Linked DNA regions of Homo sapiens: all the other regions are linked to region 1. The links are contacts of gene promoters, found by promoter capture Hi-C in blood cells and fetal thymus (Javierre and others, 2016). All regions are on one chromosome and are shown on one strand. Each heading gives the region's core, a stretch centred on a gene start or on the middle of the fragment in contact. The rest is flanking DNA. Distances are from core to core; before and after follow the strand shown.

Region 1 (3,464 bases), core at 55-2,554:
CGACCCCGGCGGCTTCTCCTGCCTGAATCTGGACTCCGAGAGAGAGGAACGGAGTGTGTGTGTTTGTGTGTATGCGCTGCAGGGTGTAATGTAATGTGACACTGTTGGTTTAAGGTGTGTGTGACACCCAGTGTTAAGATGGGTGAAGCAGTGGATTCTGTGTTTGTGACCGTGAGGCGCTGCTGTAGGTGCCAATTCCTGTGTTAGAGTGTGTGCCATCAAGCGTGTGCTGAGATACTGGGTTGTGTGTTTGTGTGGGTGCAGTAGAGGGGTGCAAGGAGACCTGTGCTGTGTACCTATGTTCTGGCCAAGAAGTGGGTAAGATGATATATGCTAGGGTGTGTTCCTTAAAGGAATGTGGGGGGTGGCTAGGTTTTGAGGGTTCATCTAGTGAACTGTGGCTGTGACACTCGTACATGAGGGCACGAGATTGTGTTTGTGTGTCCACGTCGCGGGGTGTCACACCCGGTTGTGTTATTGCTCTGTAAAGCCACGGGTTGTGTGTCGGTGCTGCTGATCGTGCAGACACTGAAGCGGATTCTGAGCTGGCGACGGTGCCCCAGTGGGCGCTGGTGTGCGGGAGGTATGTCTGTGTGCACATATGCAGGGATGTATGTATGTGTGTATATATGTCCACGGTCTGGCCCTCTGGGTGCCCGCGAGAAGCTGGAAGCGGCTGAGTGAGCCGAGGTAGTTGCCCAACAAGTGTGTATGTATGTGTTGTGGACAACGGTCCTTGCTTGCTCCGTCCTCCGGGAGACCCCCACCAAACTGGGGGCCGCGCGCTTCCCCAAACCCATCCTCCACGCCGCGCGCTCCTGGAGTCTCCTTATCCCCGTCTCTCCGAGCGCGCCCAGGTTTGGGACGCGGGGACTAGGGTTCTGCTCAGCACCCCCTCCCCTCCCTCGGCTTCTCGCCGCGGACCTGGGAGGACGGAATCCCTCAGCCGCATCCCCTGCTATGGGCTCCCAGCAGCCCCCACCTCAGCCCCCTCGCGCCGAGCTCGTGTTGGGCCCCCGCGGCCTCGCTCCGCCGAGCGCCCCTCCCTCAGCTCCCGCCGGCCATGACCGCTTCGGGCCCCAAGCCGCTGCTGCCTCCACCGCCGCCGGATCCTTACCCGCCTCCGGGCAGCGCCGGCCGCCCGCCCCGCTGTCCATGAGCCGCCGCCGGCCCCGGCCTGGGCTGCGGCTCCGCACGGCTGGGGCTGGAGCTGCAGTTCGGGCTCCGGCTCCGGCTCCGGCTGGCTCTGGGCGCAGCAGCCCGGCGGCTTTGCGTCCGCGCCGCGCTCCCGCTCCCCGAGTGTGTGAGGCGGCGGCGGCGGCGGCGGCGGCGGCGGCGGCGGCGGCGGAGCCAGCAGAGAGCGGAGCGCACAGCCCGGCCCGCCCCCTCCCTCCCCCCTCCCTCCCGGCCCGCCCGCCTCCCCGCCCCCCCTCCGGCCGGGAGGTGGAGCTCGGGACCGCTCCGGTCCGGCTGGGAGGGGACCCCGAGCACCGCTCCCCAAAGCCTGGACCCCTCCCTCTGCCATCTCTTCACTGCCCGAGGCCCAGTACACAGGCCGTGCCCTCCTCTGAGCTTCACCTTACACTTATCCCACCCAAGCCTCCATCTAGGACCGCTCCTGGATTCCCCTCCTTACCCTACTCAAACACCTGTCCCCAGCTCTGTCTGCCCCCTGGGAAGTCGAGGCAAGGGAAGTGTCTCCCACAGCGCCTTCTTCCCTGGGCACCTGCTCCTCCATATCCACCCTCTTCCCGCCCAGATCCCCGATCGCCCTGTGTGGCCCTCCCTTCCCGCTGCGCTCGGGGAAAGTCCACCCCTCCCCCTCCGGCCGAAGCCGCAGAGCGGTCAGCCTCGGTGGCCGCAGCAAGCCGTGGGGGTGGGGCTATGGAGGGGACCGTGGGAGGAGGAGGCTAATGGGACCCGGGGGCTCTAGAGTGAGGATGGGGAAGATACACAAGCGTGAAGACGAAGTGCTGCTCCTGAGCTTAGGCTATTCGAGGGTCCCCTGATCACCTGCCCTCTGCACGGCGTAGTGCTGCGGCCACACGTATTTGCCAGTGACTTACATTATACAGTCACCGGGTCCCTGCCCCGCGAGGCCGCGCAGTGTCACGGCCTGTGTCACACGCCCTCGCAGTGCCACACGCTCCCTATCACACTCACACCAAATCACACACGGTGTCACACGCAGTGTCTCACACACTCCAATACTCGGTTTCTCCCATTCAGCTCTGGCTCTCTGGCGCCATCTAGAGGTCTCTGAGTAGCTTGGGAACTCCCTCTCCTGCGCTTGCGGTTTGGTAACCCAGGCTACCAAGTGTCCCAGTTCAACAGGACCTCCTGCCTTCTTCGCCTGCAGGCCCAGGCAGAGTGTTCTAGGTCAAAAGAATGAGGAAGGTTATCCCTAGCCAGGCCTAGTGCTGGGTGAGGAAAGGCTCTTGTTATGGGATGACCAGTTGTTGGGCCTCTTTTTGCCATAGCCTCTGACTCCCCATCTCTGTCCTTCCCCATTTTCCTGTTCCTACCACTCTTCTGTGCCTTTCCTCTTTCTTCTACTTCCTTCTCTTCTCAGCTCTGGCCTCTCTCGGTGGGATGCTCTTCAGGGTAAAAGTGGAATCTCTGGTTAGCTAAGAGGGCAAGCAAAGTCTGTCCAAGATCTCTCCCAGAGCAGCCCTGCTTAACTGGACTCCTTTTCTGACCTGGGCTCTGCTCTATCCCTCAGCCCCAGGAGCCCAGGGGCAGGGCTCTAGATGGGAGATGGGGTAATCTGGTGAAAGAGGGGGGTGGGTCTGTTCTGTAAGTAGCTTCTTTCTGTCTCTAGAAAGCTCATACTCTCCACATCATTGAGCACAGCTCCGAGGAGGGAATCAGTGGCCCAGAGAGAAGAAATCTTCCACAGAAGAGCTGCCCCGGTCTCCCTGCCCCCAGCGTGTGCCCGCTGCCCAATGCAGCAAACCCTCCCCAGTCTGCTTGCTGGGAGCCATTCAAAGGCTCCTCTGTTCTCCTCCCTTGCTCAGGGCTGAGCAGGATCAGCAGCCGCAGAGCTGGGCAGGAAATGCTAATCTCCCAGATGTTCGCCTCCATCCTCCCTGCTCCACCACCATCAAACTCAAATTCTGCACCAAGTGGTAGGAGCAGAACTGGGCCACAGCAGCAGCACCAGGGTGTGCCTACTCTTCTCCCTGCTCCCCAGCCCCTCCTACCCCAGCTGCCAGGCTGGGCTCTGTGCCCCTGAGTCAGGGACAATGTAGATATGAGAATTGGGGCCTTTTTTCCCCAGGAAAGAGGGCAGGTGAGCAAGCAGGGACTGGGAGGATGGTTGGGGAGCAAGGGAGGTGGCATTTGAAGAGGAGAGAAGTCAGACTTCTGGCCCTGTACCAAAGTGGGAGGAGGACCTGCTTGGCAAGTGAAGCACTGGGGGAGGCTCCTGAAACTGATGGTGCCTGAGTTCCAGCTGAGACTGT
Region 2 (3,963 bases), core at 1,230-3,729, 210 kb before region 1:
GGAGTTTTGCTCTTCTCTCCCAGGGTGGAGTACAGTGGCATGATCTCGGCTCACTGCAACCTCTGCCTCCCGGGTTCAAGAGATTCTCCTGCCTCAGCCTCCCGAGTAGCTGGGACTATAGGCGCTAATGTCTGGCTAATTTTTTGTATTTTTAGTAGAGACGGGGTTTCACCATGTTGCATGGCTGGTCTCAAACTCCTGACCTCAGGTGATCCACCTGCCTCGGCCTCCCAAAGTGTTGGGATTAGAGGCATGAGCCACCACGCCCGGCCAGTACTGTATTTTCATTAAAAATAATATAAGTGGCCAGGTGCGGTGGCTCAAGCCTGTAATCCCAGCACTTTGGGAGGCCGAGGCAGGCAGATCACCTGAGGTCAGGAGTTCGAGACCAGCCTGGCCAACATGGTGAAACCCCATCTCTACCAAAAATACAAAAATTAGCCGGGCGAGGTCATGTGCGCCTGTAGTCCCAGCTACTCAGGAGGCTGAGGCAAGAGAATCGCTTGAACCCAAGAAGCGGAGGTTGCAGTGAGCCAAGATCTCTTCACCGCACTGTAGCCTGGGAGACAAGAGCGAAACTCCATCTCAAAAAGAAAATAATAATAATAATAAAAATGAGTTGCTAGAAAATCTGGATGAAAAAATGAAGAATACAACCCGACCCGCTTTTTTTTTTGAGACAGGGCCTCACTTAGGCTGGAGTGCAGTGGCATGATCACAGCTCACTGTAGGCTCAAACCTCCGAGGCTCAAGCAATCCTTCCACCTCAGCCTCCCCAGTAGCTGGGACTATAGGTGAGCACCATCATGCCTGGCTAATTCTTATTTTTTGTAGAGACAGGGTCCCAGGTTGCTCTCAAACTCCTGGGCTCAAGCAATCCTCCCGCCTCAGCCTCCCTAAGTGCTGGGAATTGCAAGTGTGAGCCACCACCCCTGGCCCAAGCCCTTTTTTTATAATTAGATTCAACACATAAAATTACTATGTCAAATTGCTATAAAATATTCTAAATGCTTACTCTCAAGTTCTGTGCTTATCCTGTCATGGACCATAACACATAGTCCAGGGGCTAGTATGGTGTGACAGTCTTCACAGCACCCTCCGGGTAGCACTGCCTTAAAGGATGGGATAGCTTTTTGGAAAGTGTAGATAATAATGAGAGGAGACTTAAACCTGGTTGGGAGGGCCACGACAGAGCCCTGAAAAGATATGGAGACAATGTGTTAGTGTGAGGAGTTGTAGGAGACCTGGGAGAAGGGGGTCAAAAGCCAGAGCAGTGGAGCATTTCCCATACAGGAGTGCCGGATGCTGCAGAGATGACCTGGTGAGGCTGGGAGGCAGCCTTGGCCTTTGGAAATGGGAAGGCACTGGTGACCTGCCAGGTAGCAGTTCAGGAGGGCATGGGCAGAGGAGGGTAGCTGCAAGGGGTCAAAGGGGAACTGCAGGCTGCACACGACTTTCTGACGCATTGTCAGGAGGGAAAGGAAGGCACCAGGGTGAAAAGTTGAAGATGGAACAGATCTTAGGGAAAAGCTGTCTTAGGATGGGAGAGACTGTCGTCATCATCGTCATCATCACTACCATCATTATTATTTCAACGCCCACATACTGAGGGCTTGCTGTGTGTGGGCCTCACATGTCATTTAATCCTCAACCCTAGGGGGTGAGTCTTTTACGCCCACCCTACAGATGTGGAAAAGCTCACAAGGCTGAGAGTTGTGACTCAAATCCCAGGATGTCTGACTCCAGGGCCTGAATTTTCAGTTTTGGGAATGGCATACAGGAGAGAGATACTGGCTTATCTAAGAATGGAGAAGCTGGGAAATATGAAGGTAGCTTTGCCTCCGGGCCTGCTGGAAAACTGGAGCAGAGGGTGGGTAGTGGGAATCAGAGCCAGCTTCTTCGTGGGAGGAGGCATTGGCACAGTGAGGTTTGGGCCGTGAGCTTTGCAGACAGAGGCCTGAATTTTAGTCCTGTGCTCTGCTGCCTCCTAGCTCTGTGACCTTGACCAAGTGAATTCGTAAACTCTAAAACTTAGTTTCCTTATACTTAAAACCTCACCTCAGAGAGTGGTTGTGAAAATTAAATGAGATATCGAGTGGGCAGTGCTTAACACAGGGCCTGGCACAGAATATGTGCTCAGTCACCCTTAGCTGTTAGTGGAAGAAGTGGCTGTAGGAATAAGAGAGGAGAAGATGGGAGCACGTGGGGACAAGGAAAGCATGAGATGCTGCAGAGGGCGCTCTCCTGTCTCACCTTGCCCACAGCACTAGTCCAGGCCTCCAGACTGTCAGCTCCATCTGTGCCAAAATGCTGGATCCTCCCCCCAGCGAGGATGAGCTCAAAGGAAAAGGGGAACCTGGAGAGAAGATGAGGTCAGGGAGGAGGATGGGACCAATGAGAGGGCTGTCAGGCTGGAGGTTGGGAAGAGAAAAGGGGGAAGCTCAGTGGTCACAGAAGGGCTATTACCTGTCACCTGGGTCAGTGGGTGGGGGGCTCACACCCAGACATACAATATCCTGGGGCTGTATGAGGCTGAGGGGTTCAGGGCTGTTTTCCGATGCAAACATTTCCAGAGCTGCTCCCAGCACACACCAAAGGCGCGGGGGAGCTAAGGCAGAGGGAGATAGTCAGGGAGCAGCAGACCTCTGCCCCCACTGTCATAGTTCCAGTTTACCAGATATTTATTCTGTGCCAAGCCCTTTGCCCATATATGATCCCATGTAATCTTCACAATAACCCTATGAGGTGTTATACTCAGTCCTGTTTTGCAGATGGGGAAACTGAGGCTCAGTTTCAGTAGCTTGCCCAAGACACATAGGTAGGAAGTAGCAGAGCTGGGATTTGACCCAGACAGTCTGACTTCAGAACAGATGCTCTTAACTATCACCCAATGCTGCCACTTGGCATGGTCCCTCTCTCACCCCCAGGACCCCAGCCCATTCCCAGGCATGGCCCCACTTTCCCATCCCAGCCCTCTCCTCTTTGTCCCTCTGCAGTACCCTCACACCCATCCACTTTCTGTCCCTGTATCCTCCCATCCCTTGGCTCCCCCTCACCATCCCGGCCCCTGCGAGGGGGTGAGGGTCCAGCTTTGTTGCTGACGGGACTGCAGTACAGGAAGCCGCTGTAAGTAGCACGCACCACCACCTCATTGTACACACCAGGGGAGGGGTCTGCAAGGGGAAGGGGAAGTAGTCAGGTCAACCAAGTGCAACGGGATAACCTGACCCCCTCTGGGGAAGGGATGAAATGGAGAAAGACAGTGGGACCTGACTCCACTGCCAGCACAGCCAAGTAGAGCCCAATGGAGCTGGATCCCTCACTACCCAGATTGCAGAAGAGAGAGGCAGGGGGTAATGAGACAGGGAGGCCTCTGGCCCAGCCCCTGCCCACTGCCTCTCCCTACCAGCCAGCCAACCAGGCTCTTAGCTCTGGGTGAGCACCTCAGGGCATGTACCATCCTGTAAGGGTCTCAGCCCCCTGGCCTGACCAATGGAGATGAGTGTCACTAAGCTGATCACTTCTTTGAGAGATCACACTGTCTCCAGGGAGACTAGTCCTGACCTATGGGTCGGCCCTGTCAGGGGTGGACCAGCACTAGCACCTGGAACACCCAGACCCTCCCCAGCCATGACCGTCATCAGCTATCACATGACATCAGGAGATAGGCCCTGGAGGATCTGAGGGTTTGGGAAACTGCCCAGGCTGGGCCATTGTGATCAGCTAATTGGGGCCCCTTGGAAGAACTGAATCATAGGTTGGGTCTGAGAATTCCTGTAGGGGAGAGAGGAGGCACTTGGGGGAATGACCTGAGGGCAAGAGGCCAGGGCAGCTGCCATCAGGGGCTGGGGGGAACCAGGGCTCCTCGCCTTCAAAGGCCTCAACACAGAGGAGCTGGGTCATGTTCTTCAGCAGGTTGGGTCTTGCCACAGCTGCACACAGTGCCTGCAGGGAGGGAAGGGC
Region 3 (3,943 bases), core at 975-3,474, 180 kb before region 1:
GAGCCACTGAGCTCCAGCGGCCGAATGGACAGGCCCCCAGCAGGGAGGCGCTGTGCGAGACCCGCCCCTCTGTCCGTGGACACAGGTCTCCAACCCTCCGACGCTCTCCCTGATTTCTGCATCACCGATCCCCTTCGCTGCTACCCCCAGGAGATGGTCTCGGGGAGGAGAGACTTCCCAGGCTACTTGGGAGGGATTCTTCCTTCTTTCCCCTGGAACTGTCTCTTAGCGGTGCCCAGCGCTTCCCAGGGCCTCCGCAGCACTGCCTCTCCCTTCGTTCCCTTCCTGAATTCCCCAGGCCCTCCCTGTCACTCCCACTCTCTCAACTTCTGCCAGTCTTCTGAGGCAGGGACCATTAAGGCCCATTCCACAGATTTGGTGATGCAAATGCATGCAAATGTATGCAAATCGCCATGTAAAGGAGGCTTGCCACTGTGGTTCTAAGTGGCTGTCACAGCTTCTCTGACACCTGTTTTGGGAGACAGCTGCCCTGCCCCCTCCTCCTCGGTGTCTATCTGCTATTCGCCCCCCTTTCCTTCCTCCAAGGCTCTGGCCCCCTTTCCTTCAGCGACCCTGGTTGGCTTCTGGTTACAAAGGACCCTTGGGACTTCTCTCCAAACCCCCTAAAGGGGGCAAGGCGAGAAGCACATCTTATTGGGCACCGACTTTGACATCTGATAATTTCACCATTTTCTAGCTGTGTGACCTTGGGAAAGCAGGTTAACTTCTCTGAGTCTCAGTTTCATCGTTAGCAGAAGGGGAATGATAGTAGGCACCTAATAAGGCTGCGGTAAAGACTCTATGCTGCACTGCGTGTAAAGTGCTTGGCACACAGCCCGAGCATGGGAAGCATGTGGCTATCAATGTTATGATGATCACTGACCCTGTGGGTCATCGTATTCTGAGAACTCGGGCTTGGAGACAGAGATATGCAGGTGGACCCAGCTCAGCCATGTGCACATGTGTGCTCATCTCTGTACATGCGCGCGCACACACACACACACACACAGCTGACAGCCTCACGCGCTGGAGGGGCGCACGCGCGGGTACACACGCATTCAGAAACACACACAGGAGGAGGCTGTGGGAGGTGGAATCTGAGTCATCGAGACCAGAGCTGTGGGTGGTGCTTTTGTCCTGATTTCCGGGGCTCAGTGCTCCATTTCGAACAAGGAAATGTATGCGGATGGCACAGCTAACCAGCCAGCTGAAGGGCCAGTTGTGTGGACCCCTTTCTTGCATCAGCCCCTTCCCCAGGGTTGCTATTGTGCCAGTCCCAGCCTAGCTCTGTGTCATCTGAGCTTTTTCTTCCTCTGACCCTGCCCCTAGCTCCACTGAGGCCTAGTAGGTGGGACGGGGCAGGCCCACTGAGGTGATAGAGCAGGCTCTCAATGACGTCATAGAGAAGGTGATGCCTGCTGCAGCCGCTCGCTGCAGAATGCCCTGGGAGCTTGATGGACATAGTGAGGAAGAGGGTGTGAGGGATGTGGCATACAACGGTAGTTAAGAGCACTATCTTGAGAATAAGGTGAACCCCGGGTTGAAGTCCTGGCTCTGCCTCTGTGTGACTTTTTGCAGTTCTCTTAACCTCTTTAGGCCTCAATTTCTTTGTCAGTAGAATGAAACCAGTCATACCTAACTCAAAGAGTTTTGTGACTTTTCAATGAGATAATGCACATAAACATGTGCTCTGTTCAGTGCTGCATGGACTGAATGTTTGTAAGTGGCCATGATTTTGGATGATGCTGATTGAAGGGCAGCCCCACCCACAGCAGTTTCACGTCCTTCCTAGGAGTTGCCTCTCCTTCCACACCACTCAGGCCTGGAGGGAAGAAGAGAGGCAGTGCTTTTGGTGCCTGGGGTCTCCTGGGTCAGTATGGGCTAAGGTATCAATAGGTAGGTGTGTTGTCCAGCTTTTCTTCTCTGATTAGATGATTAATCAAGATAGGTCGGAATCACAACCTTGCCAAAAGGGAAAGAAAGATGCTGTGGTTTACTGTGCACCTGTTATATGGTAGGCACCATGGTGGGTGCTGTCCCACGTGAGCTCTCGTCAACCTCCCAACAGCTCTGTGAAATAGGTATTAGCATCTTCAAGGTACAACCCCAGAAGAAATGAAGTAACTTGCCCTAGGATGTATAGTCGGTAAATAGAGAAACTGGGATTCAGACCATCTCCCATTCCACACTCTCTACCTTGCCATATACATCCACAGTTTTGATTCCTGTGGGCTCCATGGATGTGGCAATGGGGAGGATCAGTTCCTTGGATGTGCAGCCCCTGCCTCCAGAGCTGCCCAAGTCTGCTTGGGCCTTAGAGGGGGAGGGGTCTGTATTTCTCCGCTCAGTCTCTTGAGAGCCTTGTGGGCAATGGTGGAGCTAGTTAATCACCAAAAGTGTCCCCAGGTGTTATGCTCTTGGCTCCTAGCCAGTGGTTATATGACATCAGGGAAAGGACACAGGTGCATGGAGGTTGGGGGCGGGCTAGGGGCAGCCTAGACACCTGCTGAAGGCTCGGTTCTGTGTCAGTGGGGGGCATGGGGATGGGGGGAGCAGCAGATGGATGGGGTCGGTCTGGGGCAGGGATGCTGAATCGGCTCTGAAGCCCAAGGTGACTCGAGAGCCTGCCAGGAAGAAGAAAGTGTGAAGGAGAAGGAGGGAAGGAGAGCTATAGTGTAGGAGAAACTGAGGCAGCTGAGGGAAAGGACAGTGGGGTCTCAGTGTGGTTGGCCAAGAGTGGTTAGTGGTGCAGGCTTTGGAGTCAGAAGGCACAGGCTCTTATTTCAATGCCACCGCTGATGAGCTATGTGGCCAAAGGCGAGAACTGTCCTCCAGTTTCCTCAGCTGCAAACAGGGTACAAATAGCACCTCTACAAATAGAAGTTCTATCCCTAGAACCTCTAGTCCTTCACCACCAGAACCTAAACTTCATTGCAGCCTGGCTGCCAACTAACCACCCATAGGACCTAAATCACGGACAGGGCCAGGAAGGACCTGCCTCAGACGGCTCCAGGGTCCGGCTCCCACCCAAGTCTAACCACACACTCAATTTTTTTCTCCAACTGATGGCCACCTTTTCCTCTGGGCCCAGGTCTAAAGGTCTACCTGTCTTGCTCATTGGCTAAGCATCCAGTGCATAGTAGGGGCTCCTACTATGAAAGGAGTAATATATGTCAAGTGGCTGATATATTGTTCAATAATTGCCCCTTAGCTGATTTCATTTCAGTGAATATTTCTAGAGCATTCACCCTGTGCCAAGCAAACAAGACTGAGTCCCTGTCCTCACAGATTGGTGGGTGAAGGGTTTAAGGGTGCAGTGAGTGTTACTGAGGTGACTACAGGCACATTCCCAAACCAGGGCCCAGGAGAAAAGGTGGCCAATGCTTGAAGGAAAAAACTGTGTGTGGTTAGGCCTGATTGAGATTTGGCCCCTGGAGCCTTCTGAAGCAGGCCCTTCCAGGCCCCAGCAGTGATTAAGGTCCTTGTGGCTGGTTACTCGGCAGCCAGGCCGGAAGAGAGAGCCGGTAATTAACAAGCTGGCACTCACACAACCACATGTCAGCACGCCCAAGCGCTGGGATAGCTGTCTGTCAGTCGTAACTGCTGGTGGAATTTTTTAGACAGCTGGGCTCAAGCCGGGAAATGAATATAAGTTGCATTTCTATGCATCGTTGTTCATAGTGGTAAAAAAAATTAATCAGTGACATAGCTGTGACACATACTCATTTAAGAGTCTACAGAGAAATGTTCATTTGTCAGAGGCAGCAAAGAAGAGATTATGTGTCAGCTGGGGAGGGGTGAAATATTTATACAATGGCTAAAAAACACCGGTGTGTAAGGGGGTCAATTGATTGTGTCAGTGGCCACATGACAAATACAGCATTGAGCAGCCATGGGCACTACCCTTGTGCCCGGGGGCTCCATTCTGATGACAAATACACAA
Region 4 (3,724 bases), core at 273-2,772, 230 kb before region 1:
ATCTCACCGCTCCGGTGCCCTTCCCTCTTCAGGAATGGGCCAGCCAGTTTCTGGAGTGCCTGGTGAAAAAGCCATCACAGAACCAAGTTCCCTTTCAAAGACCCACCCCAACTGGCAGAATATGACATCAGAGTATAATCATACCATTCTTTGGGTACATTATGTGCCACTTGCTTTGCTAAATGCCTTATAGTCATTAATTTGTTTAATCCTTACAACAACCCTACATGAAGGTAAGGTATTATTATTATTCCCATTTCACAGAGAAAGAAACTGAGGTCAAGAAAGGTTAAGTAACTTGTCCAAGGTCACATGGCTATAATTACACAGCAGGGATCTGACACCAGTCTGCTTGACTCTAGGCATCTGCTCTTGACCACAATAGGGATAGGTATGGACAGACATTACTGGTGATATAAGAGAGGCTGGAACAAGAGGTAAGGTCCAGAGAAAAGTCCCATACCTGCCCATACTCCCGTTCAATGGCTGCCCTCTGCTTGCTGTAGGATCTGCGGAGATTGCAGGTCGGGGGTGAGGTGGGGGATAAGGTTATGTTTGGTCCTGTTCTCCCATCCTCAGTCCTCTACTCTGGGCAGGAGGGAGCGGTTGGGGGGAGCCAGGTTCCTAGAGTGTAACTACACCCAGAGGGAATGGGACTGATGGGAGTCCTTGAGATCACCTCGGGCAGCTGCAACACAGGAAACCCTCACCTTACTGCCCCGGGCCCCAGCAGGATCCTCCCCACCCCAGAGGTTCATCTGTAGGCTTAGAGGTGAAGACTGATGGGGGCCTGGGTACGATGTCTGCCAGCCTTCCAACAGGTCTGGAAGAGGGAGAGGGATTCTGCCCTAAGGTTGATTGTGGGGTTGGGGGCAGTGGTGTGGAGTCAAGGGCTTTGAGGGAGGGTTCCTGTGTGTTTATGTGGGTGGGAGGGGGTTGGGAGGGGTTAGGTGGGGGAGCATTCCTATCCAGTATCTGGAGAGGCCAGGCCTAGGGTGAGGGCTGTGGATGGGTCGGCTGGGGAGCTCTTGGCCCCTGTTCCTCCACCCCAGCACATGTATATTGGGGAGAAGTGGCGCACAACGACGAAGGTGAGTGTAAATGAAGGGGGTTGGGGGAGCTACCTGATGTCCTCCAGCAGATCCGCCTCCCTCTGCTGCCAGGTCTGAAGGATGCTCAGCTGTTCCAGGAAGCGAAGCTTCACCTCCTGGGCCGGCTTCACCTGTGGGGGCAAAGAGAGGATGAAGACCCCAGCGCAAGGACCTAAAAAACACTCCGCGCAGGGAGCGGTGAGGGGGCGGGGCCGGGGGGGTGCTGAGCTCTTTCCTCTGTTACTTCTGGTTTGGGGTCTGACCCCTTCCGACTTCCCGTCTCCTACCACAAGTCGGATGCCCCCTTAGCTCCCTCCGTTCCCCCAGCCCGCCAGGAGTCCCCATTCAGGGCCAAGCTCACTTTTCGGGGCGGCGGCTGCATCTCCGCTCCAGCAAGGCGGTCAGCCACTGGACTCCGGAACTGGAGGAAGCCCCGCCCACTATGGAGCCCCGCCCCAGGCCAGGTCAGGCCCCGCCCTCTGCCCGCCCACGACTTGTCCGGCGACGTCGCAGGGCGCGGAAGCGAGAGGGGGCCACCGAGAAACTAAACCTGTTACTGCTGCGAATACGCCGGCAGGGTCCGGGTGGCGGGGCGGGCGGGGCGGACGCAGCGTCCGCTGGGCGGTGGGAAGAACCCCAGGCATCTGAGTCAAGACGCCTAAGTTCTATTTGTAGTGTAACCACTGATTCAGCCTGTAATTATTGATAATTATTCATTTGCATATGTAGATCCCCAGTCCCCGAGCTAATGATGAGGAATGGAGAGGAATTCAGTGTGTGACCAGGGAAACTGAGTCACTGGGCACCTGAGCAAAGATGCATCTGACGAAGAGAGGGCTGGTCCCAGACCTTTTCCTAATTCCCGCTTAACTGGAAAAGCCAGCGTGAGCGGGGTGAGAAAGATGCCTGGATCCAGGAAGGAACCAGGCCCAAAGGGAAAAAGACTTGGCCCCACTGAAAACTAAACGATACCAGTGAGTCGGCGAGAGCTGGGAGATGCGCAGGAAGCCCCTGCCACCTTTAGGATCTTCCAGCCCTAGCACTGCTTCCTGAGGAGCCTCTCCCCAATTCCTCATCCTCCTCACCTAAGCTTCTTTGGCTCAGGCACCTGTCCCAGTACCCCTGACATGTCTCAAAACTCCAGATTCACATTCCAACTCCCCACTGACACCTCTGCTAGTATATCTAATAGGAACCTCAACTTTTAAAGCTTTTAAACCTCCTTCAACCTGATCCTCCCCCCGTAACGTTTTAAATGGCACCGCATTTCCTCCAGTCAGTTAAGTCAGAAACCCAGAGTCAATGTGCCTTCTCCTACCCCTACATTCTATCCATCAGTAAGTCCTACAGGTTCTATTTCAAACAACAATAAACAAACAAAAACCTCTTGATCCACTTCCCTCAATTTCCAAGACCACCATCCTAGTCCAAGCCCCCATTATTAGACTTCTGGTCTAATATCTGATCTCCTTGCTTCCACACTGCCCTCACCCCAACCCACTGTTCACACAGCACTCAGAGTGATCAACCTTTTTTTTCTTTTTTAAAGGGAAATAAGATCTCATAATTTACTTGCTTAAAATGCACTTGCTTCAGAATAAAATCCAAATAGAATCCATGGCCTTCAAGGCTACGCATGGAAGACCCTGCTGGTCTTTCTTACTTCAGCCTGTACTCTCCTCCCACTGTCTGCTCACTGTGCTCCAGCCTCTTTGCTGTTCCCTCAGTAGACCAAGTCCCTTCCAATGCAGAGTTCTTCATGCCTGCTTTCTTTCTCCAGAATCTCCTCCTTCCAGCGTTCCATCTGTCGCCTCCAACAGCTTCTTTCCCTTACTTTGCAACTCTTCACAGATGCCTTCCCCATCCACCCATCCAAAGACCATCTCCACAATCACTCTTTTTTTTTTGAGATGGAGTCTTGCTCTGTTGCCAGGCTGGAGTGCAATGGTGCAATCTCGGCTCACTGCAACCTCCACCTACCAGGTTCAAGTGATTCTTCTGCTTCAGCCTCCCGAGTAGCTGGGATTACAAGCACGTGCCACCACAACCAGCTAATTTTGTATTTTTAGTAGAGACAGGGTTTCACCATCTTTGCCAGGATGGTCTCAAACTCCTGACCTCAGGTAATCCATCCCCCTCAGCCTCCCAAAGTGCTGGGATTACAGGTGTGAGCCACTGCGCCTGGCCTCCACAATCACTCTTCAAGCTCATCACTTTGGTTCAGTTTCTTCACAGCACTAAACTCACTTGTTCAAGTACTGGTTTATGTGTTTATTTGCTATTTTCTGTTCCCCTCCACAACGGAGGATTCATAAGAGCAGGGGCCCTGTTTGTTTTGTTCATGCTATATCCCCAGACCTGGCACCAATTAGGTGCACAATACATATTTGTTGAATGAATGAATGAGAATGGTAGTCTTTTGGTTCCCAGGTTTATTGACAATTACTCATCTATTTTTGACTCCCCGAGTCCCAGCTCCCAAACTCGCTCTCCCTACTCCAGGCTTCACGGTAGTCCCAGAATGTAGGAAGTGGGACAGGATAGACTTTAACATCACCCAGGCCTCTGGTTTCCAAAGCATTTTTTTTCTTTAATGCAGTAAAACCATTCCTTTAAAACCCAAAATCTCTCAT
Region 5 (3,832 bases), core at 945-3,444, 140 kb before region 1:
CATCAAGTTAAGATGAAGTCACACTGGATTAGTGTGCACCCTAATTGAAAGACTCTGGTGTCCTTCTAAGAAGAGGGGACACAGACACAGACACAGGAAGAATGCTATGTGACCACAGAGGTAAGATTGGGGTGATGTGTCTACAAACCAAGGATTGCAGCCACCGGAAGCTCTTGAGGGCGGGAGACCACAATTGACTGCCTTTTGCCCCTCCTAGTGCACTCAGACAAGGGTAAGAACCTTTCTGGCACTCAGAGAGAGACATGGAACAGATTTTCTCTCTGAGCCTCCAGGAAGTAACCAATCCTGCTGACACCTTGATTTCAGACTTCTGGCCTCCAGAAGTGTGAGAGAATAAATTTCTGCTGTTTTAAAGCCACCCAGTCTGTAGTAATTTTTATGGCAACCCCGGGTACCTCATATAGAAGCTTACTAAGAATCCACCATGTGAGGAAAAGAAGGGAAGAATGATTCCATCATAAGGAACAGATTACACAAAGGCAAGGGGGAGTTAGAGGCCATGGCAGAGAGAAATGAAAAGTTTAGTGGGGTTGGAATATTCCCTAGGAGGTGGGAATGGGGGGTTACATTTTAGAGCATGTATGTGTGTCCATATGGTTTGCATGACTGTGATTATATGTATGTGAAGTTTATACATGCATGTGCTTTTCGGAGTTTTGCATGTTTCAGCCTGTTTTTATGATTCATGTGTTTCTGTATGCTCTTGCATGATTTGTGTGTGTGTCCTGACCTGTGAGCATGTGTGCCTTGCATGTCAGTGCATGCATGTGCACAGTCTACAGGTGTGTGCATTGAACCCAAAGAAGTTGGTCTATGGTTGGTCACAGGAAGATTTGAAGCCAGGCAGAGCCCTGTTTCCTCATCTATGTGGTTGGGGCTCACTGTAAATGGCAAAAACTTGGTCAGACTGTGCAATGACTCAGGTAGACACCAGGAGCTCAGAGCTCATCTGTCTTGATTCAAGAAGATCAAAGCAGAGTGGATGATGCCTTGACTGCATTGGTTAGCAAGAGGCATGTGTGGTACAGAACCACTGAGTCCTTGTGTTTGACAGCTGGAGGTGGCCTTGGAGATTGTTCTGATTCCTCTTGCACCTCAGCCCAGCCCCACTGGCACTACTCCTGGGGAGTGCCCAAACTCAGTGCATCTTCCCAGAGAACATCTTCTTGGTAGAGTCCCACTCCCTGGGCAAGTTTTACAGTGGAGGGCAGGAATCAGGAAGGACACCCCTATCCCAGGCCCTCTTGATGGGATGTGCAAAGGGTTGGGTATATGCATCTTTTTTTCTGAGGAGATTACAGCCAGATAATCCATGACCCAAGAAATCTAAGAACCACTTCTCTAGTCTAGGCTGACATTGAGAGTGTGAGCGTGTGCATGATATGTGCAGGTGTGTGCAAGCATGCGGAACTCCCAACCTGTTTTCTCTCTGAGAATATGGTTGGATCAGGATGTCAAGTGCAGCCCCAGGCCCTACCAGCTGCTGTGTGGTCAGATTGCAGGGGCTGTCCTTGACAAGGCTGGCAGAACAGACAGAGCCAGTGTTAAGGACAAAAAGGGAGGGGCAGAGGCTGCAGCTCTGTAGGGAGGGCTGGCTTGTAACCTGAAGGAGCTCATCGAGATCAGCTCCCTGATCATCCCCATCCCTTATATGATTCACATTGAGGATGAAGCCTTGGAGGTGGAGCCAGGATGGGTGTGTGGGCAGGGATGGGACCATAGGTTGCACAAGGAGCATTGTGAAGTTCCTGTGTAACAGGAATTGAGGCTGTTCAGGACCTTGGTCAGCACCCCTGGGTTCCCGCAGCACCAGTTTCTCTGCCTGTTTCCAGCCTGCCCTATTTCAATGCCTCTGGCTATGATGGAGATGCTGAGTTACAGTGAACCTACATATAAAGTTCAGGATATAGTTGAGGGCCTTGTCAGGGCTACAGGAATTTTTGAGAGACTGGATGTGAAAAAGGAGGGTCTCTCACATGGGAGACTCAGTGAGGGGATACTGAGCCCCAAAAGAATGAAAAGAGAGGATCTTCCAGAGGTCAGGGTGGGCGGTGGTGGGGGGGAGGCTTGATGTGGGAGCCCTTGGCTTCAGACTCATCCAGTGGGAAGGAAGAGGAAGAGCATCCTGGTGAGGAAGGGGAGGAAGATTCTCCAGCTCGGGTTGTGTTTCTCTTTCCTCTTCTCTCAGGCACTGGGACGAGACAGCCTGAGCCTTACCACCCTTGCCCAACCAAACTCTCTCCGGCTGTGGGCTCCCCAAACATTCCAGGATCAGAGGCTTCCCTGAGGCTATTCTCTGAGACTTGTCCCATGTCCCTTCCTTCTGCTGTCCCACTCCCTTCCTTTCCTGGCACCATCACAGCCCTGCCCTTTGCACCCCTGTCCTAACTGGTAGGACTTTGCTGCTGCCATCCTCTGGCTCCCAGACATGATGGCTCTTTTCCTTCCAAAGAAATTTTTACAAGCAATTAATTAACCTCATCAGATCCTTTCTGTGGGTCCCAGTGCTAGGAGGGAGGCAGGAGAAGTGCCTTGTCCCCTGAGGCCAGTCAAGTGGATATGTGGCTACCTAGGCAGCTGCTGGGAGGATTCTATCTCAGGCAGCCACCTTTTACTCACTCTGGAGCCAGCAGTGTGGGCCCAGGTCCTGGGAGAAGTGAGGTTCACCCTGTCTGCTCGCAGCCCTGGCTTAGTCTCCAAACTGCCTTCCTTATTGGCTCCCTCCAACTTCCCTTTCCTCCTAGTTCTCCCCCAGGCAACTTCTGGGATCAAAGGTTGCATGCAAAGTACAGGGAAGGAATGCAGGTAAGTGTAAAGGAGCATGACCTCAGGTAGCAGTGATAACCTTTCCCCTGCATGCTGGGCCTGCCATTTTGGTGTAGCAAATGGCATGGAAATACAGGCAAATGCATAGTGTCTGCATGCAAATTGGCCCAGACATCCTGGCCACTTCCCTGGCAGCATGCAGCCCCTTGGTGTACCTGCAGGGTCTGATCTCCTGCGACCCTGAGGAGTGGTTCCTCAAATGGTCGGGCACTGGTGAGGGGAACACTGGGCCTACCTCAGCTGGTCCTGATGCCTGTGGATGAGACCCCTTCCTTCCACTCTGAGATCCCAGCTAGGCCCTGGGGTTTACTTAGTGTGTGACAGCGGGGGAGAGGCTGGGGCTGAGAAGAAAGGCAGAGGGAAGAGAGACAAAGTGGTGCATTGATTGTGCAGCTATCAATGCTGGGCTCTGAGCTAGACATGCAAGTTAACTCATGTTCTTCTGACACCCCAAGAAGTTCTTAAAGAACCTGAGGTTTAATGAAATGCAGCAACTGGCTCAAGATCTCACATTGAGTAACTTGTGAAGCCAGAACTAGACCAAGATTTTTATTATCTGAGCAAAATTAAAATGTAAATCAGATAGTGCCATCCTCTGCCCAAATCACTCTCATGGCTTCCCAGTGCTTTTAGCAAGAAATTCTCTTCCTTTCCACGGCCAGCAAGACCATGTCCCTTTCCTCCACCTCATTTCTCACTCTGCCTCAGCACCAGGCCTTTTTATGTTCCTCTAGCACATGTGCTCATTCTCTTCTTAAAGCTCTTGCACTTGCTGATCTGCCTGCTTGGAAACCTCTTCCTCCAAATCTTTATAGAATGGCTTATTCTCATTCTTCAGGTCAAACTCCACCTCTCAGAAGGCCTTCCCTGACTGTCCAGGCAATAGCAGCCTCCCTCCTTCCCTCTCTACCCCTTCTTCCCAATTTATTTTCTTCACAGTACTTAACAGCATCCGAAGTTATTTATCTGTTCACTTGTTCATTAT

Evidence for each region. Contacts are between HindIII fragments. The CHiCAGO score rates a contact against its expected background, and 5 or more counts as called.
Region 2: a contact is called between a fragment that was not itself captured here and the fragment with the promoter of PCDH1 in region 1, in 17 of 17 cell types (M1 macrophages, M2 macrophages, endothelial precursors and 14 more). The highest score is 10.3, in M1 macrophages.
Region 3: a contact is called between a fragment that was not itself captured here and the fragment with the promoter of PCDH1 in region 1, in 17 of 17 cell types (endothelial precursors, megakaryocytes, M2 macrophages and 14 more). The highest score is 33.4, in endothelial precursors.
Region 4: the fragment with the promoter of FCHSD1 here is called in contact with the fragment with the promoter of PCDH1 in region 1 in 12 of 17 cell types (neutrophils, non-activated CD4 T cells, naive CD8 T cells and 9 more); the score reaches 8.4 in neutrophils.
Region 5: a contact is called between a fragment that was not itself captured here and the fragment with the promoter of PCDH1 in region 1, in 6 of 17 cell types (endothelial precursors, M1 macrophages, M2 macrophages and 3 more). The highest score is 10.2, in endothelial precursors.

The regions. Positions count from the first base shown.
Region 1 is chr5:141,877,106-141,880,569 of GRCh38, forward strand. PCDH1 (protocadherin 1) reads right to left here and starts at 1,305. Exons shown (of 5, transcript NM_032420.5): 1 at 1,118-1,305. The coding sequence starts at 1,157. RefSeq lists enhancers at 1-287, 554-1,303. The HindIII fragment of the contact is 20,024 bases long and covers 1-3,464 here.
Region 2 is chr5:141,667,456-141,671,418 of GRCh38, forward strand. It overlaps ARAP3 (ArfGAP with RhoGAP domain, ankyrin repeat and PH domain 3), which reads right to left. Exons shown (of 33, transcript NM_022481.6): 13 at 3,810-3,945; 14 at 3,057-3,173; 15 at 2,467-2,608; 16 at 2,254-2,356. Among named protein-coding and RNA genes, the nearest start is that of ARAP3, 13 kb to the right of the region's middle. The HindIII fragment of the contact is 5,295 bases long and covers 1-3,963 here.
Region 3 is chr5:141,692,264-141,696,206 of GRCh38, forward strand. No RefSeq gene overlaps it. Among named protein-coding and RNA genes, the nearest start is that of ARAP3, 12 kb to the left of the region's middle. RefSeq lists enhancers at 23-556, 557-1,090 and a silencer at 35-84. The HindIII fragment of the contact is 5,323 bases long and covers 1-3,943 here.
Region 4 is chr5:141,649,896-141,653,619 of GRCh38, forward strand. FCHSD1 (FCH and double SH3 domains 1) reads right to left here and starts at 1,523. Exons shown (of 20, transcript NM_033449.3): 1 at 1,453-1,523; 2 at 1,125-1,222; 3 at 464-509; 4 at 1-59. The coding sequence starts at 1,473. ARAP3 (ArfGAP with RhoGAP domain, ankyrin repeat and PH domain 3) reads right to left here. Exons shown (of 33, transcript NM_022481.6): 33 at 3,507-3,724. RefSeq lists an enhancer at 1-123. The HindIII fragment of the contact is 983 bases long and covers 1,197-2,179 here.
Region 5 is chr5:141,733,226-141,737,057 of GRCh38, forward strand. No RefSeq gene overlaps it. Among named protein-coding and RNA genes, the nearest start is that of ARAP3, 53 kb to the left of the region's middle. RefSeq lists silencers at 1,657-1,951, 1,714-1,914. The HindIII fragment of the contact is 3,536 bases long and covers 427-3,832 here.